2 separate regions of the Homo sapiens genome follow, and region 1 is linked to region 2. The links are contacts of gene promoters, found by promoter capture Hi-C in human tissues and cell types (Jung and others, 2019). All regions are on one chromosome and are shown on one strand. The core of a region is centred on a gene start or on the middle of the fragment in contact, and the rest is flanking DNA. Distances in the headings are between cores, read along the strand shown.

Region 1 (3,526 bases), core at 37-2,536, 70 kb after region 2:
TATTGTAAAAACTGGGCTATAAAAGAAACACCTGGACTTCATAGAAAGTTGCCCTGCCTGTGGAACTGATGCTGGAAGTATGCAGGGTCAGATGTACAATCCACTGTATACTCCATGGCATCTCCAGTTTGGGGAGAACATTGCCAATGCATTTTAGTCCTATTTTTACTTTTGGTGGAGAATTGTAATAAACAGATTAATTGAAATATCAATCTGGGCAATATTTATTGGCAAAGTATTGAGAAAATATTTGTCAAATAATGAATAGGGTAGATGTTGAAATTAGGGTTGCCCTAGAAGGTGAACTATGATAGCGTTAAAAAGTTGCCTCAGAAAGAATTGCAGGAGAAATCCTCTTATTTTAGTGATAGTTTATTGGTAAATGAAAAGTCTTCCTGAAGGGATCATTAAAATTACATGTACTTTTTTGTGGCTGGTCACAGTGGTTCACGCCTGTAATCCTAGGACTTTGGGAGGCCAAGGTGGGTAGATTGAGCTCCGTAGTTCGAGACCAGCCTGGGCAATGTGGCAAAACCATGTCTCCACTAAAAATACAAAAATTAGCTGGACGTTGTGGCATGCACCTGTAGTCCCAGCTACTTGGAGGGGCTGAGGCAGGAGGATTGCTTGAACCCAGGAGGTTGAGGCTGTAGTGAGCTGAGATGGTGTCATTGCACTCCAGCCTGGGCAACACAGCAAGACCCTGTCTCAAAAGAAAATTCATGTCTTTTTTTTTTTTTATGTTTTTAAAAATGGAGGTCTTGCTGTGTTGCCCAGGCTGTAGTAGAGTGGCTGTTAATAGGTGTGATCATAGCACATTGCAGACTCAAACCCCTGGACTGAAGCAATCCTCCTGCCTCACAGCCTCCTGAGTAGCTAGGAGTACAGATGCATATCACTGTGCCTGGCTTACACTTATTTATAGTGAATGTTAACTTACAACAGTAAGTACACTTTGATTCACCACAAATTTGATGTATATCTAAAGCTTTTTCAGTGTGATCAGTGAAGAAGGTTTTACCTTACCTATCTTGTATGACCTACATCTAAATATAGAGTTCATAATTCCTAGTTTGAGTTCTTTGAAATAAGTGGAGGCCAGGCGTGGTGGCTCACGCCAGTAATCCCAGCAGTTTCGGAGGGCAAGGCGGGCAGATCACTTGAGGTCAGGGGCTCATGACCAGCCTGGGTAACATGGTGAAACCCCGTTTCTACTAAAAATACAAAAATTAGCCAGGCGTGGTGGTGCATGCTTGTAGGCCTAGCTACTGGGGAGGCTGAGATGAGATGGGAGGATAACTTTAACCATGGAGGCAGAGGTTGCAGTGAGCTGAGATTGCACCACTGCACTCCAGCCTGGGCGAAAGAGTGACAGACTGTCTCAAAAAAAAAAAAAAAAAAAGAAAGAAATGGAGACCATGGATACCTGAAAGAAAAGAAAAGAAAGAAAGAAAGAAAGAAATGGAGACCATAAGATACCTGTGAACCAATCTGAGGACAGAATCCATTTAAATTTTATCAGACCCCCCACCCCTCAAATGTAAGATATCTTGACAACATTTAATTCAGTAGCAGTTTATTTTAGTAATTATGGAGCTTTTCCAAATAATTTTAGTTAATTTCTATTGAAAAACTTCATTTTTATATTCATATTTTCTCAATTTATATAATTAAATAATGTTGTCAGGCACAACTGGTGTAAACAGGTTTGGGAGGAAACAGAACTGACTCTTGGTATATATTAAACTCAGCTGGTGGAAGTGGGTGTGTTTGGGTATCAGAAAGTAGTCTATGAGTCCTGGGCATCCAGTGTCCTTCAGCCAGGATGTTTCACAGAGGGAATAGAGAGCATTGTGGAGAGAGAATCAGCAAGGTTTTATTGCATCATTTGTTTTGGCAATTGGCTGTAAAGATGCCTGGCATGAAGGGAGGTATTTTGGTTTTTGGTTTGTGGAGCTTTTTTGCTTAACATTTTGTGAAGACTAACTTAAGGTCATTTGGCAGACGTGTTATTTCACACATAAAAGCTTCTATTCTCATGAGGCAAGGAAGCAAGAACACATTTTTCTTTGCCAATGAATGTCTCTTGCTCTGTTTTGGAATTGTGTTTAATACATAAAATCTGCACTGATTCTGGACTTCATTGAAAGAGATTCTGTAAGGTTGATTGGGGATGGAAATGAGGTGGTCTAGTAATTTTCAAAGTGCTACTGAATTACATAACAGTCTTTGTAAAACCAAAGGAACCCAAATTTTAGAGCAAATAAAACTTTACATTTTAAATTTGTTCATGTTTTTAAATGAATGTCTTTTTGCTTTTTTGTTCAAAGAGCATTTTGACAAAGAACATAATTGAAGTGTATGGGAGTGTGTATAGAATATACTGACTTCTTAAAAATGGAGGTTATTTTCCCCCCCTCCTAGTTTCCAGCATTTAATGGGAAGTTTAACTAAATGTGTATGAAATAAATTTAAAAAAATAAAAAACAATTTATATACTGTGAGTCATGCATATTCTTGCCATTTCAGAAAGGTCAAGATAAAGTATCGTATACTACTGTCACTCCGTTAATGAAGAGAGTATGTGCTGTACCTTGACAGAGCATTGGAATTGAAGGCAGAAGCTGAAGTTTCAGACCCTGGCCTGATTGATGTCTGGTGCAGCATTTAATTATTCTGAACCTCAGTTTCTCCTGTGAAGTGATGGTGATAGGTCTCTTTCATCCACAAAATGGGGACAGTAATACCTACCTCAGGGCTATTGTCAGGATTCAGTGAGATATATTAAAGGCAATTAAGAAAAGAGATAATCATTTTATTACTAAAAAATAATTTTTATAAAATAAGGAGAAAAATAAAAATAAAACCTATTAAAAGCATTTAGCACTGTGTCACAGAGTATTTGATAAATGTAGCATTTATTTTTTTAAAAATTCAGAGATGAATGAATGCTCCAGGCTATTACCCTTGAGCCTGACACTTCTATTTATGTTGGGCTTAATGCCCTCTTGCAGAGTAATAGCACTCTTGGACATGTTGTTCAAACCTGTTTTCTCCCATGTCCTGCCTAATGCCCCAAAATAGAGTGAAATTATAGCTCAGGGACTAATAGCCAGTTACTTGCACCTTGGCTTTTGTTGCCTTGTGAACTGCTGGCAATTAATGTGCTGTGAGTGTCCTGTGAAGCCCTGTGTGGGAACTTTCTCCAGCTGAAATAAAGGAGGGCAGCACTGAAAAGCCTGGACAGGCTCCTTTCTTCTCTCCCTTCCATTCTCAGCAGTGTGACTGTGGCTACACAGTCCTCCCAGTTCCAATAGCTGGCACCTGCTCTTGCAGGGAAGGCTTCTCTGGGTTGGCAGTGCCTCAGCACCTACTGCCCTGCTTGTCGCCAGCTCTCCTGCCACATCCCAGGCGTCAGACCTCCTAGGTGGTTTTTATTTTTGTTTTGTTCTGTTTTTAGTGTGGCTAACTATATCATGAAGAAATGTTCCCAAAGGAATTGTTTGCTAGTCCTTTCTCATCCCTC
Region 2 (3,328 bases), core at 186-2,685:
TTGGAAACTCTGGATATACCTTAGGGGTACTTTTAAAAAAATACTGTTGGAGAAGCCCGTCTCCAGAAATTCTGATTTAACTGATCTAGGTTGAGGCCTTTTAAGGTGGTGGACCTAATGATGCTGCAGGATTTTCCTCTAGAAAAACTACATTGAAGCCTCAGATCAGCTCTGACTTCCTAGCATGCCCCAACCCCGCAGGAAGTTAGGTATGCCCAGGTGTATGCCCAGAACTGCCTTAGGAGTAGTATTGTGCACCGAGCAGGAGACCTTTCTGGAGCTGCCATGAAGGGTGTGTATGCGTGTGTGTGCGTGTGTTTGGTGGGGCGCACCAACTTCACAGATGCTAGACCGTTGCATGTGCTTCTACCTTCTTTTATTCATGCTCTTCCAGGACTCAGTTCAACCCGAAAAAAAGCAACTATGCCTTTCTTCCTGAAAGGTCAGTTTGGATTGCTGTCTAGGGCTGCTCAGAAAACCAGGTGTTGAATGTTCTAAGGTTTCACGTGCCAAATTGGGATCAAACATATTTGAGCTTTATTTTTCCTAATAACAAAATGCAAGTAACTAGTATTTCTCTTAAGTCTTGGAAAAGATGTTTTTATTGTTGAATAGACACTACGGCATTAAGATTTCCACTATGATGGGTGCTCACAAATGATAGGCCTCTTAGGTAAGAAGCTTTAATTGACAACATTAAATATGCGGGGCGGGGGGAGTGGGTGCAGAGTCTCTCTTTCCTTTGTTAGGGCATCCCAGTGACAGAAACAATGCCTGACACATGGTACGCTCTCGATAAATATTCGTTGATTACATAACCCCCTCTACCACCCAATAACTTCTCATCATTCATTCAAAGTTACTGAACGTACCATATTAGCGAATCTGCAATGGAAACAGTGGAGGCTGTTTTCTCAAAGGATTTTCTAATAAAGCAACAAATCTTTTTTAAAAAAAATGAATGGTGTGCCCCAAGTCAATGCTGGGCTTCGGATTTCTGCGGTAGTTTGGCCTGGGGTCCTCACTGGGATGCTGGCTGGGGATGTGCTCCCTGCCCTTGAATCTCCTTCCTTTGTAGTTTTTGGCCTGCGCGGTTACGTTTCCCAGGCGGAGGAGCGCGCGTCGCGGCTGCGCCCATTAACGCGCGGCGCCGGGCAGGAGCCGTCAGGCGGGCGGGGCTGCCCGGGACCCGCAGGAGCTGCTCCTCCCGCGCCGGCGCTCGGCCCCCTCCTCCGCCCCCTCCTCCGCCCCCTCCTCCCCTTCTCCGCGGTTTGGCATCCCCGGGGCCGGGAAGCCTCCTCCAGCGCTGACAGCCTGTCGGCGGCGGAGGGAGGCCAGAGCGCGGATGCTTGCCAGTGGGCCGGGCCTGACCGCTGCGTGGGAGGCGGGCTGCATTATTTCCCGCTAGGGCCGCGCTCCAGGGAAGGAAGGGGCCAGACACGGCCCTCTCAGCCCCGAACGGCGCGCGCTGCCCGGCGGGCGGGATCCGGGCGCGGCCGAGGCGGCGGCGCTGCACCCCGGGCCTGGGCCCGCGCGACTCCCCCGGGGGCCTCTCCCACGCTCCGCGCCCCGCCCCACCCTTCCTTCCTTCCTCCCCTCGGCGCTCCCGGGAGCGCTCGGCAGACGCCCGAGCTTTGTGGGCGCCCGCGGGCCCAGCGCGAGCCTCGGGCGGCCCAACTTTGCCTCTCCCGGTCGGCTCCCGAGCGGGACTTGTGAGGCGTGGCCGGGTGGAGGAGGCGCTTGCGGGGGCGTGGGGCTCCCCGGCAGGCGGGAGGCACGGAGCAAGTCGCACTGGACAATGACCTGGGCAGCTCGGCGCTGCGGACACTTTTAGCTGAGGGCGCGGGCGGGTCGGCTCCTCCGCGGCTCCTCGGCCCCACCTGCGCGGAGAGGGCGGGATGCCAGAGCCAGGTGTCCCGGCGCGTTAAGGGCCCTCGCAGTCAGACGTCCCTGCACCGGCGCTCGCACCCTTAGTCGGCCCGGAACGTCTTTTTGCGGACGCCCTCGGAGCAGCCGCGATGGCCAGCACCAGGAGTATCGAGCTGGAGCACTTTGAGGAACGGGACAAAAGGCCGCGGCCGGGGTCGCGGAGAGGGGCCCCCAGCTCCTCCGGGGGCAGCAGCAGCTCGGGCCCCAAGGGGAACGGGCTCATCCCCAGTCCGGCGCACAGTGCCCACTGCAGCTTCTACCGCACGCGGACCCTGCAGGCCCTCAGCTCGGAGAAGAAGGCCAAGAAGGCGCGCTTCTACCGGAACGGGGACCGCTACTTCAAGGGCCTGGTGTTTGCCATCTCCAGCGACCGCTTCCGGTCCTTCGATGCGCTCCTCATAGAGCTCACCCGCTCCCTGTCGGACAACGTGAACCTGCCCCAGGGTGTCCGCACTATCTACACCATCGACGGCAGCCGGAAGGTCACCAGCCTGGACGAGCTGCTGGAAGGTAGGAGGGGAGGGCGCCGCACGGCAGGTGCGGCGGAGCGCCGGCAGGTGCAGTGGGCGTGAGCCGGCGCAGCGGGGAGCCCGCGGGGTGCTTTCCAAGCCGCACGGGAATTGATGCTTCTGTCTGCTTCTCTAGAGATTGGCTGGGGGTGGGGGCCGGTGGGGTGCCCACATACACACTGACTTTCCTTCCCAAGAGGTTTGTCTCTTAAAGAAGGAAAAAATTTCCTGATGGTCAGGCCAATTTAGGCACTGGTGGCATCTCCTAAGATTGTTGAACTTATTTGTATTGAAGTGCAAACTGTTTGAGAAAATGGTTCTCCCATGGGGAGCTGGGTAATCCCCTACTAATAAGCTCTGTTGGACCCTCGGTGTGGACCCTGGTGCAGGCTCCTGTCATGTTCCAGTATTCGGGGTCCTGTTGTGACTGCTGTCAGAAGCTGTGGTTGTGAAATGCTCTAGGTTGGCTTTCCTAGTTTGCCTTGCAGCAGAAGTTACTTGAGGTGAAGAGGGATGATCCTAGACAGCAGGTCTCAACCTTGGCTTCATCTTGGATCACACTGGGGACTTCGAAAAATATGGGACCCTGATCCCCCAACCCCCAGATATCCTGATTAAATTGGTTGGGTTTGGGGTGTGGGTTAGGCGTCTGGAGTCTCAAAAGCCCCCCCCCCAGGTGATTCTAATGTGGGACCCTGGTTAACAATCACCGTGCTAAAGGGTTTTCCACATTTGGTTGGAAAAAAGGTAAATCAAGGTCAATCTCTCCAGCCTTATCCTCTAATAAGAGTACCTAATTAGAATGATAGAGGCCATTGGATTCAGCAGTGGGGACTTATTAAAAATTAGTAATTCTGCTGTGTCAACCATGCCTCGGTCAAAGAGACTGC

Evidence for each region. The method cuts DNA at HindIII sites, captures the fragments that hold promoters and counts their contacts. A contact is called where the count stands out against the background at its distance.
Region 1: a fragment that was not itself captured here is called in contact with the fragment with the promoter of DCLK2 in region 2 in 2 of the 25 tissues and cell types used here (H1 embryonic stem cells and heart right ventricle).

The regions. Positions count from the first base shown.
Region 1 is chr4:150,147,655-150,151,180 of GRCh38, forward strand. All of the region lies in intron 2 of DCLK2 (doublecortin like kinase 2), which reads left to right. Among named protein-coding and RNA genes, the nearest start is that of DCLK2, 71 kb to the left of the region's middle. The HindIII fragment of the contact is 3,352 bases long and covers 1-2,962 here.
Region 2 is chr4:150,077,010-150,080,337 of GRCh38, forward strand. It overlaps DCLK2 (doublecortin like kinase 2), which reads left to right and starts at 1,436. Exons shown (of 16, transcript NM_001040260.4): 1 at 1,436-2,439. The coding sequence starts at 2,019. The HindIII fragment of the contact is 8,036 bases long and covers 1-3,328 here.